2 separate regions of the Homo sapiens genome follow, and region 1 is linked to region 2. Evidence: promoter capture Hi-C in 16 types of primary human blood cells and fetal thymus (Javierre and others, 2016). All regions are on one chromosome and are shown on one strand. Each heading gives the region's core, a stretch centred on a gene start or on the middle of the fragment in contact. The rest is flanking DNA. Distances are from core to core; before and after follow the strand shown. Region 1 overlaps DNMT1 (DNA methyltransferase 1). Region 2 holds the start of MRPL4 (mitochondrial ribosomal protein L4).

Region 1 (6,874 bases), core at 3,532-6,031, 110 kb before region 2:
GGGAGCTGGGAACACCATGGTGACCAGGAAGCCCCCTGGGGCTCACGCCCATCGGGAAAGAGACAGTCAGGGATATCGCACTTGGCTCGAGGCCACGGCAGGGACCTGAGGCAGCGCAGGTGTAGGAGAGCGTGGGAATCTAAGCTGAGCCTTTAGGGTGGGGGAAGGGGAGTGGTGCCAGGGGATGGTGAAAGGGCTGGTCTTGGCATCCTGGGAAAACATGCGGGGAGAGGCAGCAAGGGGGAAGGCAGTGGTGGGTGGGCAGTGGCTTGACACCATTCCAGACCAAGTCCAGGACTGCGGGAGCTCTGACACTTCCCATGACCATGCAAGAGAGACCAGGGGTCACACAAAGGCTGAGGACTCGGGAGGAGGAGCCTGGGATCAGATTCCATGTCTCCCCTGAGTCTTGGGCAGGCTGACTGTTCCCACGAGGCTGCTGGGCTGGGCCTCGAGGAGGAGCCGCTCTGTCAGGGTGCCATTACCTTACAGATGTGGTCCCTGAGGATGGGCTGGTACTGTGCGCCCCGGAGCTGCCTCTGGAACCAGGACTGAGGCTCCCCGTTGTAGGAGATCTCCAGTGCCGAGGCTCCATTCCGCACCTCCGGCAGGTCGGACATCGTGTCTCGCACCGTGATGGTCCGGAAAGGACCCGAGCTCAACCTGCAACAGAGGAGGAGGTCAACACCTCTGGAGATGCACGCAGCAGCTGTCCCCTCATCACAGGTGCCACCCCCTGCCTGCTCAGATGGCCTTCTCCCGAGATCACAGCACTGCCCGAGGTCACATGGGTGGCAGTGTGCCTGGATGCCATCTGGAAGGGGGGATGGGGCTATGGCGTGGGCTTTGTGGATGACCACAGCCAAGCATGCGGCTGGCCGCTCTGCACATGCTATCTACTAGGGAAGCAGATGATGCAGGGTCAGAACTGGAGACCACAGGTGGCAGAGTGCCATGTGGCAGAGCACCGTGTGGCAGGGCAGATGCTGTACCATCCTCTCCTCCCCAAGCCTCACCAGGGAGTACTCACGGGCCCCATGAGCTACTGAGGCCTGCTCGGCAGTGTGTGGAGGAGCGACGGGGGCCACCTACCTGGTTATGTTGCTCACAAACTTCTTGTCATCCACCACCACGCTCAGCTGGCAGGCCCGGGGAGCAAACACGTGCAGTGGCTCCGGGAACAGAGGGAGCTTCTCTCCAGGGGCCGCGGCCAGGATGATGGCCCGCCTCCTAGTCTGGGCCACGCCGTACTGACCGGCCTGTGGGGGAGAAGGACGGACAACCCCACCGTCAGTGGGACACTCCCAACTGGACTGGCCAGACCCAGGCCCAGGGTCAGCAGCCTGAGTCGGGAGTGGCTGGCCAATGCGGAGTGCACTTGCAGAAATCCCCAGTTACCTCAGCAGGCGTGCTCCTGGTCAGAGGAGTTTGGAGCAGATAAAGAACAAAAGCAGCTGAGCCCAGGGGACAGCCACTGGGGAAGGTGGGAGCAAACCCTGCGGGGAAGTCCGGCCAGCTCTGAAAGCACTGCAAGGGCCCCAAGGTCTTAGCACTCGGGGAGAACACTGGAGACCAGGAGCCCTGTCGCTTCCCTGATGGCTGTGGTCACAAGGACAGAGAACGTGGCTGCAACAAGTCTTGTCTGGTGAGCCTGAGTCGCCCTGAGGCTGAGCTAGGGGACCGGGTAGCCAAGTGCTTGCCCACTTAGGCAGACATCCTGTGCTAGCATCTGGATAGCTGTTTCATTTTTAATTATGCCCTCAATTGCTGAGCTGATACAGAGAGGATGGGGGATGCTTTTCAGATAAGGCCTGGGCCCCACAGACTATGTCCATCCCTGTCCCTGCAGACACAGCCACCTGGAGTGCAACCCTCGGCCATCTGTGGGGGTTTGTGTGCGCAGTTACCCAGAGCAAAACTGTCTTTTAAACCAATCGAACAGCTGCCGCCTACACATGGCTCTGCGCACCTCACTTCCCCTCCCGCTCTGTGCAGACTCAGCCATTCCACAGTGCTCCATGGTGGGCTGCTCACCCTTCCCCATCGAGGGAAAGGAGCCAGGAGCTGCATGGCGAGAAGCCCATTGTAGCCAGCCCTCCCAGGCATGTTCGAGAACACAGCTCAAGAGACACTAGCGGTGGACTTGCTGGGGGCCGGCTGAGCACGCATCTCCCCTGACTCCGCCAGTGGGACAGAGCACCATGCCAGCCTCTGCTGCCTGGATGGCAGGCCTATGCCATTGAACCCTGCCTTCAGTAAGGGATGGCTGGCTGCTGGCCGGGTCACGTGCTGGCCACATCTGTCTGCCCGCCCCAGCCCCAGGGCCCACCTGCAGCACGCCGAAGGTGCACTGATAGCCCATGCGGACCAGGCAGCGGAGGGTGAGCTTCAGGACCATGGAGCGCTTGAAGGAGACAAAGTTCCTGACATTCTCCAGGAGGAAGAACCGGGGCCGGTAGTAGTCGCAGTAGCTGTAGGGGGCAGGAGAGACTGCAGGAGTCACCTCCACAGACAGAGGGAAGAAACGACCCACTGTGCCGGAAGCCCCTCACGAATGTTATCAAAGTCTCTCCCTGGTGAGAGCTGAGCTGTGAGCTTCCGGGGGGCAGAGGCCTCAGTGCAGGGCGAAAATGACCACTGCTGACATGCGGCACAGCCCCGGGCCGTCTGGCAACACTGGGGGGCTTCTACCCGTTTACCTGAGGAAGGAAACCACCAGAGAGTTTTTGAACTTGGAGTAGGTGCGCGAATTGAAGCGGTTCATGCCGCTGAAGCCCTGGCAGGGCGGCCCGCCGCACAGCATCTCCACGTCTCCCTTCTGGGGCAGCCGCTGGCCGCGGGAGTTGGTGGTCTCCCCAGCCATGACCAGCTTCAGCAGGATGTTGCAGTCCTCTGTGAACACTGTGGAGCCGGGGTTGTTCAGCCGGAACGCCTGGGCCGCAGGGTCCCACATCTCGATGGCCCACAGCGTGTCAGAGATGCCTGGCAGATCAAGCACGAAGCCATGCTTTCAACTCTCCAGAAGATTTTTTTTTTTTTTTGAGATGGAGTCTCGCTCTGTCACCCAGGCTGGAGTGCAGTGGTGTGATCTTGGCTCACTGCAAGCTCTGCCTCCCAGGTTCAAGCGATTCTCCCACCTCAGCCTCCTGAGTAGCTGGGACTACAGGCACACACCACCACGCCCAGCTAATTTTTGTATTCTTATTAGAGACGGGGTTTCACCATGTTGGCCAGGATGGTCTCAAACTCCTGACCTCATGATCCACCCACCTCGGCCTCCCAAAGTGCTGGGATTACAGGCGTGCGCCACCGTGCCTGGCCTCGGAAGGAGATTCTTGAGTCAGGAAGGTGACCGGGGTTGGAAGTCGTTTCAGGTAGCACCTGCCCGGTCTGGGCTCACCAGGTATTCAGAGATGGAGCCTACGGGCGCTCACCTGCTTGGTGGAATCCCTCCGACAACCCCCCGCAGCCAGAAAACACATCCAGGGTCCGCAGCTTGGGCAGCTTGATCTCTATCTCTGGCTCGCTCGGCTCACAGGCTTGGGACTTGGGCTTGCCCTTCCCTGGGGGAGAGAGGCCAGAGGCTAAACCCGATCCTCAGAGTCCAAGTCCACCTTGCTCTCAAGCGCCTTGTTAACTCAGGCGGCCTCGCTGTCCCAGAGTCAGTAACACCAGAGGTGGTTTTACACTGAGGGATTCACAGGCAGCCTCCAAGTTACAGAAGAATAACTTGAAAAGAAACTCATACAATGACGTACCTTTTCCCTTGCCCTTCCCTTTGTTTCCAGGGCTACGGGCATGGTTGGGAGGATCTTCAAAGCTTTTGCTCTTTGCATTATAGGCCTGAAAAGGAGAGAACTGCAATCGTTTGGGAGAGAAACGCACTGTCCCCTCTCTAACGCAGACTAGTAAGAAGGCAATTTGATAGTCACTTAATTTCTCCCTCAGTGGGGCCATGACCAATTAGCCACCAATAAGAGTAGTTTGACTTTGCTACAATAGAAACTTAAAACAATCCATTTTATTAATACTAACATTTGATCTGGCTGACACTGAAATGCCTATTACAAGCACTTGAGAGTACCTTCTAGAACAGGAAAAAGTGCTATGCAGAATCTGCTGTCCAATTGGGCTACCTCATCCATGCCTGGGAGAACGTGGATGTATCGTTTTAAGGTAACAACACGGAAAGGCCAAGCCCCAACAATTTACAAGTCATGAGCTTGATCAGCTGACTCGTGGGCCCTCTCCATAACGAGGGCCACCCGCACAGGCATGTGGGCTGGGCCTGGACGTAGGCGCCTGGCCCAAGGGACCCAGGAGCAGGGGCACCTTCTCCAACTCATACTAAGACACCAGTCAGGCTGGTGGAAGCTGCCTCATGGTCCTCAACGTTCAGTTGCACCAAGACACTAAAACGTTAGGTTCTCTAATGACGTACTTTTTAAAAACCAGGAGTGTTAAACTCCGGGACCACTTGAATCTCATACAACTTGTGCTCTGGAGAACCCTGCTCAGACCCCCGTAAAGCTCCTGCAGAACAGCTTCACGTCAGCCAACCACCCACTTCTTACAAAAGCTGAAACCCTGCAGCCAAGCCGCCTTGTGTATAACCCGACATCAGACTCCTTCTGGCCAACTTTGACCCCGAAGCCTTCCCTCTAGCAAGCAGGGGCACCACCTCGAGGAAGTAGAAGCGGTTGGGGCCGCCCATGGAGTACACCTGGACGCACTCGGGCAGGTCCTCCCCATACTCCACGGTGCAGCGGCCCTGCACAGCCTTGAAGTCCACCACGGCCTCCTCGTCGCTCCAGTAGAGCAGGTTGATGTCTGCGTGGTAGCTCGCTGGAGTGGACTTGTGGGTGTTCTCAGGCCTGCGAGCGGGAGAGGCCTCGTTAGGAGCTCTCCTTTGTGGTGAGCTTATGCTGAATTAAACAGTACCATGTTCCTGGGGTGCTCAGGGAACTGCAGGGTAAAGACCCCCTAGTTCGAGAACCGCAGGGTAAAGACCCCCTCAGTTAGGGAACTGCAGGGTAAAGATATCTCCTCCCCACACTGGGGAACTGCAAGGTAGACTCCCCCCCATTTAGGGAACTGCAGGGTAAAGACCCCCCCTAGTTAGGGAACCACAGGGTAAAGATCCCCCAAGTTAGGGAATCGCAGGGTAAAGACCCCTCCCAGTAAGGGAATCACAGGGTAAAGATATCCCCTCCTCACATTAGGGAACTGCAAGGTAGATTCCCCCACAATTAGGGAACCGCCAGGTAATGACCCCCGACCCAGTTGGGAACCGCAGGGTAAAGACCCCCCAGTTATGGAACCGCAGGGTAAAGACCTCCCCAGTTAGGGAGTCATAGGGTAAAGACCCCCCTACTTAGGGAACCGCAGGTAAAGATAACCCCTCCCCAAATGAGGGAACTGCAAGGTAGATTCGCCCCCAATTAGGGAACCACAGGGTAGAGACCCCCCAACCATTAGGTCAGCTTGGCTGCTTGCTCTGCACGCCTGGCCCTGCCCTGCTGTGTCCGCCTGCCGGTAGCAGCCTCTCGAGTGTGTTTCTCTCACCTGTACCACTCACAGCCCTTGTTTTATTTCCTGTTATTACAAAGGCTTCAGGAAATCTTTGATCTATGTTAGCTAAGAGGTGAGGCAAGTGTATAGCTTCCTGTACAGGCTAGTTTCAGGTTAATGCCTAATCACCGCAAGTTACTCGGGTCTTAGAAAAAGAAAACGTAATAGGCCAAAAGCTTAGGAAAGAGAAAAAATCCCAGAGACAGAAAGGAGGACCTGGGAAGAGGTGGGGACAGCGGGACAGAACCTGGACAGTCATAGATGGAGCTTGGGAGGTTCTCTGGGGGTGCCCAGGCACTCTACCCGTTTTTTCTTTTGAGACGGGGTCTGGCTGTCACCCAGGCCGGAGTGCAGTGGTGGGATCATGGCTCACTACAGCCTCAAATTCCTGGGTTTCAGTGATCCCTTCAGCCTCAGCCTCCCAAGTAGCTGGGATTACAGGCGTGTGCCACCACGCCCAGCTAGTCTTTTTTTTTTTTTTTTTTTGGTAGGGCCGGGGTCTCACTACGTTTCCTCAAGCTGGTCTTGAACTCCTAGACTCAAGTGATCTTCCTGCCTCAGCCTCCCAAAGTGCTAGGATTAGAGGCGTGAGCTACAGTGCCCAGCCAGCTTAAGGATTTCTTTTGGAAAAAGGGCTCTGCAACATTAAAATAAGGACCTAAAAGTGAGGGCTGGGAACTAGAATTCTAGTCATTATCAGTGCCCACCGATAATCAGAAACACTTGGAAAAACAGCTACTTCAACCTAACTCTTAGAACAACTGTGGGTGCTATGCCACAACCTTGTTTCAGGCAGAGCCTTCTAGAAGAGTCTGTGGCCTCGTGGAAGAACAGAGGCCTCTGCTGACCTGTAGAACTTGTTGACCCGGATTTTGATGTCAGTCTCATTGGGCCTGCCGTTGCTCTTCTTGGGACAGAAGATCTCTTTGATCCGGCCAATTCGGTAGGGCTCAGGGGCATCCAGGTTGCTGCCTTTGATGTAGTCGGAGTATTTCCGGTAGTGCTCTGGGTACAGGTCCTCATCCACGGGCTCCTTCCGTGGGCGTTTCACGGGACTGGACAGCTTGATGCTGCAGAGAAGCACCCACTTGACATCAATGAACCTTCCACCTTGCAGTGGTCAGTCAGGCATGACTGACCAGTGAAAATAACCATTTAAAGTCAAGCACCTGATGAATTAAGGTAGGTGTGTACCCTAAGAAATGATTTAGGCTGGGCATTGTGGCTCACGCCTGTAATCCCAGCACTTTGGGAGACCAAGGCAGGTGGACCACAAGGTCAGAAGTTCGAGACCACCCTGGCC
Region 2 (7,137 bases), core at 4,221-6,720:
CACTCCAGCCTGGGTGGCAGAGTGGAACACTGTCTCAAAAAAAAGAAGATAAATATTAATATAGGGCAAGAGAAGAGGGTCAGAAAGGTCAGAGGTGAAGATTTGCTTTTTTATTTTTTTGAGACAAAGTCTCGATCTGTCACCTGGGCTGGAGTGCAGTGGCGCAATCTCAGCTCACTGCAACCTCCGCCTCCCGGGTTCAAGTGATCCTCCCATCTTAGCCTCCTGAGAAGCTGGGACTACAGTCGCACACCAGCACAGAGGTTTCAGTGAGCTGAAATCACACCACTGCACTCCAGCCTGGGTGACAGAGTGAGACCCTGTCTCAAACAACAACAACAAAAACAAAGGAAGCATGCAGTGGGTAGTCCGAAAGGTTCAGCCACCTCTGCCCCCTGTCAGTCTTTCCTCACTCCTGGCCTCTGCGACTGCTGTTCTCTCAACCTGAAACAGACTTTCTCCTCTGGACAAAGTCCTCAAGCCTTAGCTCTCAGGCTACAGCTTCATAAGACCACCCCAAGACCCTGCCCCCGTGGTTGGGAATTCCTCCTGTGGACGCCCACAGACCCTGTAGACTCCCCTCCTGAACTCTGATCCTTCAGGCCTCTGCATTGGACTGTGAATATTTCAAAAGTGTTTGCTGGATTTACTGGTGTACCAGTGGTGCACAGTAGGTGCCTAATAAATCACTAAGAAACTAAGCCAGGCGGCCTAGTGTGGTGGCTCACGCCTGTAATCCCAGCACTTTGGGAGGCTGAGGCAGGCGGATCATTTGAGGTCAGGAGTTCGAGACCAGCCTGGCCAATATGGCAAAACCCCATCTCTACTAAAAATACAAAAATTAGCTGGGCGTGGTGGTGTCTGCCTGTAATCCCAGCTACTCAGGAGGTTGAGGCAGGAGAATTACTTGAACCCAGGAGGTGGAGGAGGTTACAGTGAGCCGGGATCGCACCACTGCATTCTAGCCTGGGTGACAGAATGAGACTGTGTCTCAAAAAAAAAAAAAAAAAACAAAAGGCACAGGGCATGGATGGATGATACAGATCTGTTGTGGGGGATGAGGGGTGGAATCACAAGGTCAGGAGTTTGAGACCATCCTGGCTAACATGGTGAAACCGTCTCTACTAAAAATACAAAAATTAGCCAGGCGTGGTGGCGGGCACCTGTAGTCCCAGCTACTCAGGAGGCTGAGGTGGGAGAATGGCGTGAACCTGGGAGGCGGAGCTTGCAGTGAGCCAAGATCACGCCACTGCACTCCAGCCTGGGCGACAGAGCGAGACTCCGTCTCAAAAAAAAAAAAAAAAAAAAAAAAGCCAGGCGAGGTGACTCACACCCATAATCGCAGCACTTTGGGAGGCCAAGGCGGGCAGATCGCTTGAGCCCAGAAGTTTGAGATCTGCCTGGGCAACACGGCGAGACCCTGTCTCTATGAAACAAGAAAAAAGAAAGAAACGAAATACTGTTCCATCATTTGCCACATAAAATCTAAACTCTCTGGTGCAGAACAGACTTGCAAATCTGCCTGTAAAATCATACACCGGATTTTGGAGTAGACACACAGGAGGCTGATTGTAGTGGTGGCTTCTGGGAGAAGAACTGGGGGGTAGGGGGCACAGATAAGAGTAGACAGAATTTTCACTCTAGTAATCTTTGTAATTTTTGAAATTCTCTCTACCAGGTGTATGAATGACCAATGAAAATATACAATAGGCCAGGCGCAGTGGCTCACGCCTATAATCCCAGCACTTTGGGAGGCTGAGGCGGGTGGATCACATGAGGTCAGGAGTCCGAGGCCAGCCTGACCAACATGGTGAAACCTTGTCTCTACGAAAAATACAAACATTAGTCAGGTAGGGAGCATCACTTGAGAACAGGAGTTCAAGACCAGCCTGGACAACAAAGCAAGACCTCTGCCTCTACAAAAAAAAAAAAAAAAAAAAAAAATTGCTGGGCATGGTGGAACATGCCTGTGGCCTCAGCTACTTAGGTGGCTGCAGCAGAGGATCATCTGAGGCCAGGAATTCAAGACTACAGTGAACTATAATCGTTACACTGCACTACAGACTGGTAACAGGGTGAGATCCTGTCTCAAAAACAACAGCAACAAAATAAACGATTAAAAGACCTTTTAAAGTTGCAAAATACATAGAGTCTTAAACATGCATCCACAGTTATTTATTTATTTATTTAGAAACGGAGTTTCACTCTTGTTGCCCAGGCTGGAGTGCAATGGTGCGGTATCAGCTCACTGCAACCTCCGCCTCCCAAGTTAAAGGAATTCTGCCTCAGCCTTCCAAGTAGCTGGAATTACAGGCATGCGCCACCATGCTCGGCTAATTTTGTATTTTTAGTAAAGATGGGGTTTTGGCATATTGGCCAGGATGGTTTCGAACCCCTGACCTCAGGTGATCCACCCGCCTCGGACTCCCAAAGTGCTAGGATTATAGGCATGAGCCACCACGCCCGGCCGCATTCAGTTATTCTTGCAGGGATAAAATACACAATGAAATACACTATACTTTTTGTTTTCTTTCTTTCTTTTTTTTTTTTTTTTTTGAGACAGAGTCTCACTCGTCGCATGGGCTGGAGTGCGGTGCGGGATCTCGGCTCACTGCAACCTCTGCCTCCTGGGTTGAAGCGATTCTCCTGCGTCAGCCTCCCGAGTAGCTGGGATTACAGGTGCCCGCCACTACGCCCAGCTAATTTTTTTGTATTTTTAGTAGAGATAAGGTTTCACCATGTTGGCCAGGCTGGTCTCGAACTCCTGACTCGTGATTCGCCCACCTTGGCCTCCCAAAGTGCTGGGATTACAGGCGTGAGCCACCGCACCCGGCCACATTTTTTTTTTTTTTTTTTTGAGACAGGATCTTAGTCTGTCACCCAGGCTGGAGTACAGTGGCATGAACATGGCTCACTGCAGCCTCAATCTCTTGGGTTCAGGTGATCCTTCTGCCTTAGCCTCCCCATTAGCTGGGACCACAGGCATATACCATCACACCTAGCTAATTTTTAAATTTTTGGTAGAGGCCAGGCGCGGTGGCTCACGCCTGTAATCCCAGCACTTTGGGAGGCCGAGTCGGGTGGATCACCTGAGGTCGGGAGTTCGAGACCAGCCTGGCCAAAATGGTGAAACCCTGTCTCTACTAAAAATAAAAAATAAAAATAAAAATTAGCTGGGCGTAGTGGCGGGCGCCTGTAATCCCAGCTACTCGGGAGGCTGAGGCAGGAGAATCGCTTGAACCCAGGAGGCAGAGGTTGCAGTGAGCCAAGATCGCGCTACTGCACTCCAGCCTGGGCAACAGAGTGAGATTCTGTCTCAAAAAAAAAATAATAATAATGCTATTTATTGACTTTACACCTTGTACCAGGCATGGGAAGCTTTGCCTCCATTACGTCACTGAATCTCATAACCTCCTTTTCCAGCAGAGGAAAATGAGGTTGGTTCACAGACCACGTTGTCAGCTGTGCTCTGTCCAGAACGCACTGGCCTCCAAGTAGACAGCCCTGGACTGGTAGGGAAGCCGGCTATGATCCGGTGGCGCCCCCTGGAGGTCTATCGGGAACATGGTAAAGAACCTAAAAATGGGTGGGCCACAGTAGCTCATGCCTGTAATCCCAGCACTTTGGGGGACCAATGCGGGAGAATTGCTTGAGCCCAGGAGTTCAAGACCAGCCTGGGCAACATTGGGAGACCCACCCCCCGCCATCTCTACAAAAAAAAAATTAGGCCGGGCGCGGTGGCTCAGGCCTGTAATCCCAGCACTTTGGGAGGCCGAGGCGGGTGGATCACCTGAGGTCAGGAGTTCAAGACCAGCCTGGCCAACGTGGTGCCACACTGTCTCTAATAAAAACACGAAAATTAGGGCCGGGCTCGGTGGCTCACGCCTGTAATCCCAGCACTTTGGGAAGCCGAGGCGGGCGGATCACGAGGTCAGGAGATTGAGACCATCCTGGCTAACACGGTGAAACCCCCTCTCTACTAAAAATACAAAAAGTTAGCCAGGTGTGGTGGCGGGCGCCTGTAGTCCCAGCTACTCGGTAAGCTGAGGCAGGGAATCGCTTGAACCCGGGAGGCCGAGATGTGCGATCTCACACCACTGCACTCCGGCCTGGGCGACAGAGCGATACTCCATCTCAAAATACAAATACAAAATAAAAAAATACAATACAAAAATGAGCCGGGCTTGCGTACCTGTAGACCAGCTACTCAGGAGACAGAGGCAGGAGAATCCCTTGAGCTCTGGAGGTCGAGGCTGCAGTAAGCCATGATCTTGCCCATTGCACTCCAGCCTGGGCGACAGAGGAAGACCTTGTCTCTAAAAACCAAAACAAAGAAACTAAAAATAAGCATTCGGATTTGTTAGGGGGCGACAAGGGAGGCACTCCAGGATCTGTGGACTCCCCACTTTGTTCTGTCCTTGGAGAGCCCTGGAAGGTCTGAGAGGGGACGGGACCTGGTTTAAGGGGGTAGGGGAGAGGACCCTGGTCTAGGGGGTAAGGGACACAAATACCTAATCTGAGGGGTTTCGGGGGGACATGGCCCTGCCCTGGGGAATCTAAACTGGGAGGCATGGTCTGGCAGGCCCAATCCTGAAGGCTTTCTGAGGGCAATAAGGCCCTGCCTTTAAACAAATGAAAAAACGCCAGGCACGGTGGCTCACGCCTGTAATCCCAGCACTTTGGAAGGCTGAGGCGGGAGGATCACGAGGTCAGGAGATCGAGACCATCCTGGCTAACGCGGTGATACCCGTCTCTACTAAAAATACAAAAAATTAGCCAGGCGTGGTGGCGGGCGCCTGCAGTCCCAGCTACTCGGGAGGCTGAGGCAGGAGAATGGCGTGAACCCAGGAGGCGGAGCTTGCAGTGAGCCGAGATCGCGCCACTGCACTCCAGCCTGGGCAACAGAGCAAGACTCCGTCTCAAAAAAAACAAAAACAAAAACAAAAACAAAAACAAAAAAACAAATAAAAAAACAAAACCACATAACTGGATAAAGAAAAAACCATCTCCGACAGCCTTGGAGGCGGGATGAAGGCGTGGCCCGGTGGGCGTGACCAACAGCAAAAGTTTAAGCGTTATTGGCTGTATTCCTTAGTTGCTCACTCCAGAACTGCCCACTTATGGGCGGGGGTCACTCCTTCAGGCTTAACAGTCATTGGCTGAATTGGGCCAGAGAGGTCTCATTGGCTGAATTCCTGCACCGGCTCGTCGGAGGCGGGACCCAAAGTAGGCTAGGCCTACGGAAGCTGGGTCTTCTTGCTGTGAGGTCGCGTTCCCCAGTGTTACGGAGGGTCCTTGAGGCAGGAGTGAAAATTGGGTCTGGGGGTTAGTCCTGGGGTGGAGGTCTGGGCACGCCGGGTCGGACCCCCTCCATCTTCGGTTTTGCACACCCCGCTTTCCAGCGCGGAGTCGCGGCGGGTAGGGCGGCGTCGCGTGCGTGACGTCATCCAGCGGCGCCTCGCGAGGCTCCAGTGGCCTTGACCTCCCGCGGCGTGGGAGGCTGCGCGGCGATGCTGCAGTTCGTCCGGGCCGGGGCGCGGGCCTGGCTTCGGCCTACCGGCAGCCAGGTGAGGCCAGGGGCTGGAGGCGTGGTCGAAGGATGAAATTTGGGGGTGTCCAGGGGTCGTCTCTCACTTTCGCCCAACCCTTGCAGGGCCTGAGTTCCCTGGCGGAAGAGGCAGCGCGTGCGACCGAGAACCCGGAGCAGGTGGCGAGCGAGGGTAAGGCAACCGGGGTGGCTCCAGGAGGGGCGGCGACAGAGAGGTCTGACCCTTGACCCTAACCTCTGACCCCCGCAATCGCTCCAGGTCTCCCGGAGCCCGTGCTGCGCAAAGTCGAGCTCCCGGTACCCACTCATCGACGCCCAGTGCAGGCCTGGGTCGAGTCCTTGCGGGGCTTCGAGCAGGAGCGCGTGGGCCTGGCCGACCTGCACCCCGATGTTTTCGCCACCGCGCCCAGGTGAGCGAGGGCTGTAATGGTGAACTGAGTGGCAGAGGGATGAAGAGCGGGATTTCAGGAGTCACGATGACTTTGGGCTTGTACCCTTGGGAAAGTGCTGTATTTCTACAGCCTCCGTTTCTCCACCTGTCAAAGGGGAATGATGACAGTTTCCCCTGCTGTAGCGCTGTGTGAGATTGAAGCCTGAGAGGTGACATCATCTAAGGGTTAGGGAGACAGAATTCTGGAGCCCGACTGATTAGGTTCAAATCCTGCCTTCCCCTCTTGTCCCTCAGTGTCCCTATTTTGTCAGCGGTCGGGAGGTTGCTGTGATGAATAAATGACTTAATTCTGGCACATAATAAGTTCTATAGAAATGTTGATAATCTTTGTTAACTGGTTTTTGCAAATAAGAGCACTAAAAAGACTAAACCATTCCTCGGTGCCTGGAAGAGGCTGTTTGCATTTTAGTTACCCTGCTGTTCATAACATCTCTAAGAAAATGTAGGGGCCACCCTGGGCGCAGTGGCTCACGCCTGTAATCCCAGCACTTTGGGAGGCCAAGGCGGGCGGATCACGAGGTCAGGAGATCGAGACCATCCTGGCTAACATGGTGAAACCCCGTCTCTACTAAAAATACAAAAAAAAATTAGCCGGGCGTGGTGGCGGGCGTCTGTAGTCCCAGGTACTCTGGAGGCTGAGGCAAGAGAATGGCGTGAACCCGGGAGGCGGAGCTTGCAGTGAGCCGAGATCGCGCCACTGCACTCCATCCTGGGCAACACTCTGTCTCAAAAAAAAAAAAAAAAAAGAAAGAAAAGAAAATGTAGGGGCCAGTTACTGTGGCTCACATCTGTAATCCCAGCACATTGGGAGGCCGAGGTGGGCGGATCACTTGAAACCAGGAGTTGCAGACCAGCCTGGCCAACATGATGAAACCCCGTCTCTACCAAAAATACAAAAATTAGCCGGACGTCTTAGTGCAAGCCTGTAGTCCCAGCTACTCAGGAGGCTGAGGCATGAGAATCGCTTGCACCTGGGGAGATGGAGGTTGCAGTGAGCCGTGATTATACTACTGCACTCCAGCCTGGGCGACAGAGACAGACTCCATCTCAAAAAAAAAAACAGGTGAAATTGATTTCAATAATGTATTTAACCTGTATTTAAAACTATGTCGAAATCACATTGTAGCATGGGGCACTG

Evidence for each region. Contacts are between HindIII fragments. The CHiCAGO score rates a contact against its expected background, and 5 or more counts as called.
Region 1: a contact is called between a fragment that was not itself captured here and the fragment with the promoter of MRPL4 in region 2, in 6 of 17 cell types (M0 macrophages, activated CD4 T cells, naive CD8 T cells and 3 more). The highest score is 6.9, in M0 macrophages.

What each region holds. Positions count from the first base shown.
Region 1 is chr19:10,137,347-10,144,220 of GRCh38, forward strand. DNMT1 (DNA methyltransferase 1) reads right to left here. Exons shown (of 41, transcript NM_001130823.3): 29 at 6,420-6,641; 30 at 4,682-4,874; 31 at 3,759-3,843; 32 at 3,435-3,563; 33 at 2,700-2,982; 34 at 2,330-2,471; 35 at 1,093-1,259; 36 at 486-663. Among named protein-coding and RNA genes, the nearest start is that of EIF3G, 21 kb to the left of the region's middle. The HindIII fragment of the contact is 1,927 bases long and covers 3,819-5,745 here.
Region 2 is chr19:10,246,744-10,253,880 of GRCh38, forward strand. It overlaps MRPL4 (mitochondrial ribosomal protein L4), which reads left to right and starts at 5,471. Exons shown (of 9, transcript NM_015956.3): 1 at 5,471-5,567; 2 at 5,654-5,720; 3 at 5,808-5,958. The coding sequence starts at 5,511. RefSeq lists a silencer at 3,407-3,456 and enhancers at 4,826-5,399, 4,854-5,003, 5,134-5,543, 5,400-5,973. The HindIII fragment of the contact is 20,723 bases long and covers 3,377-7,137 here.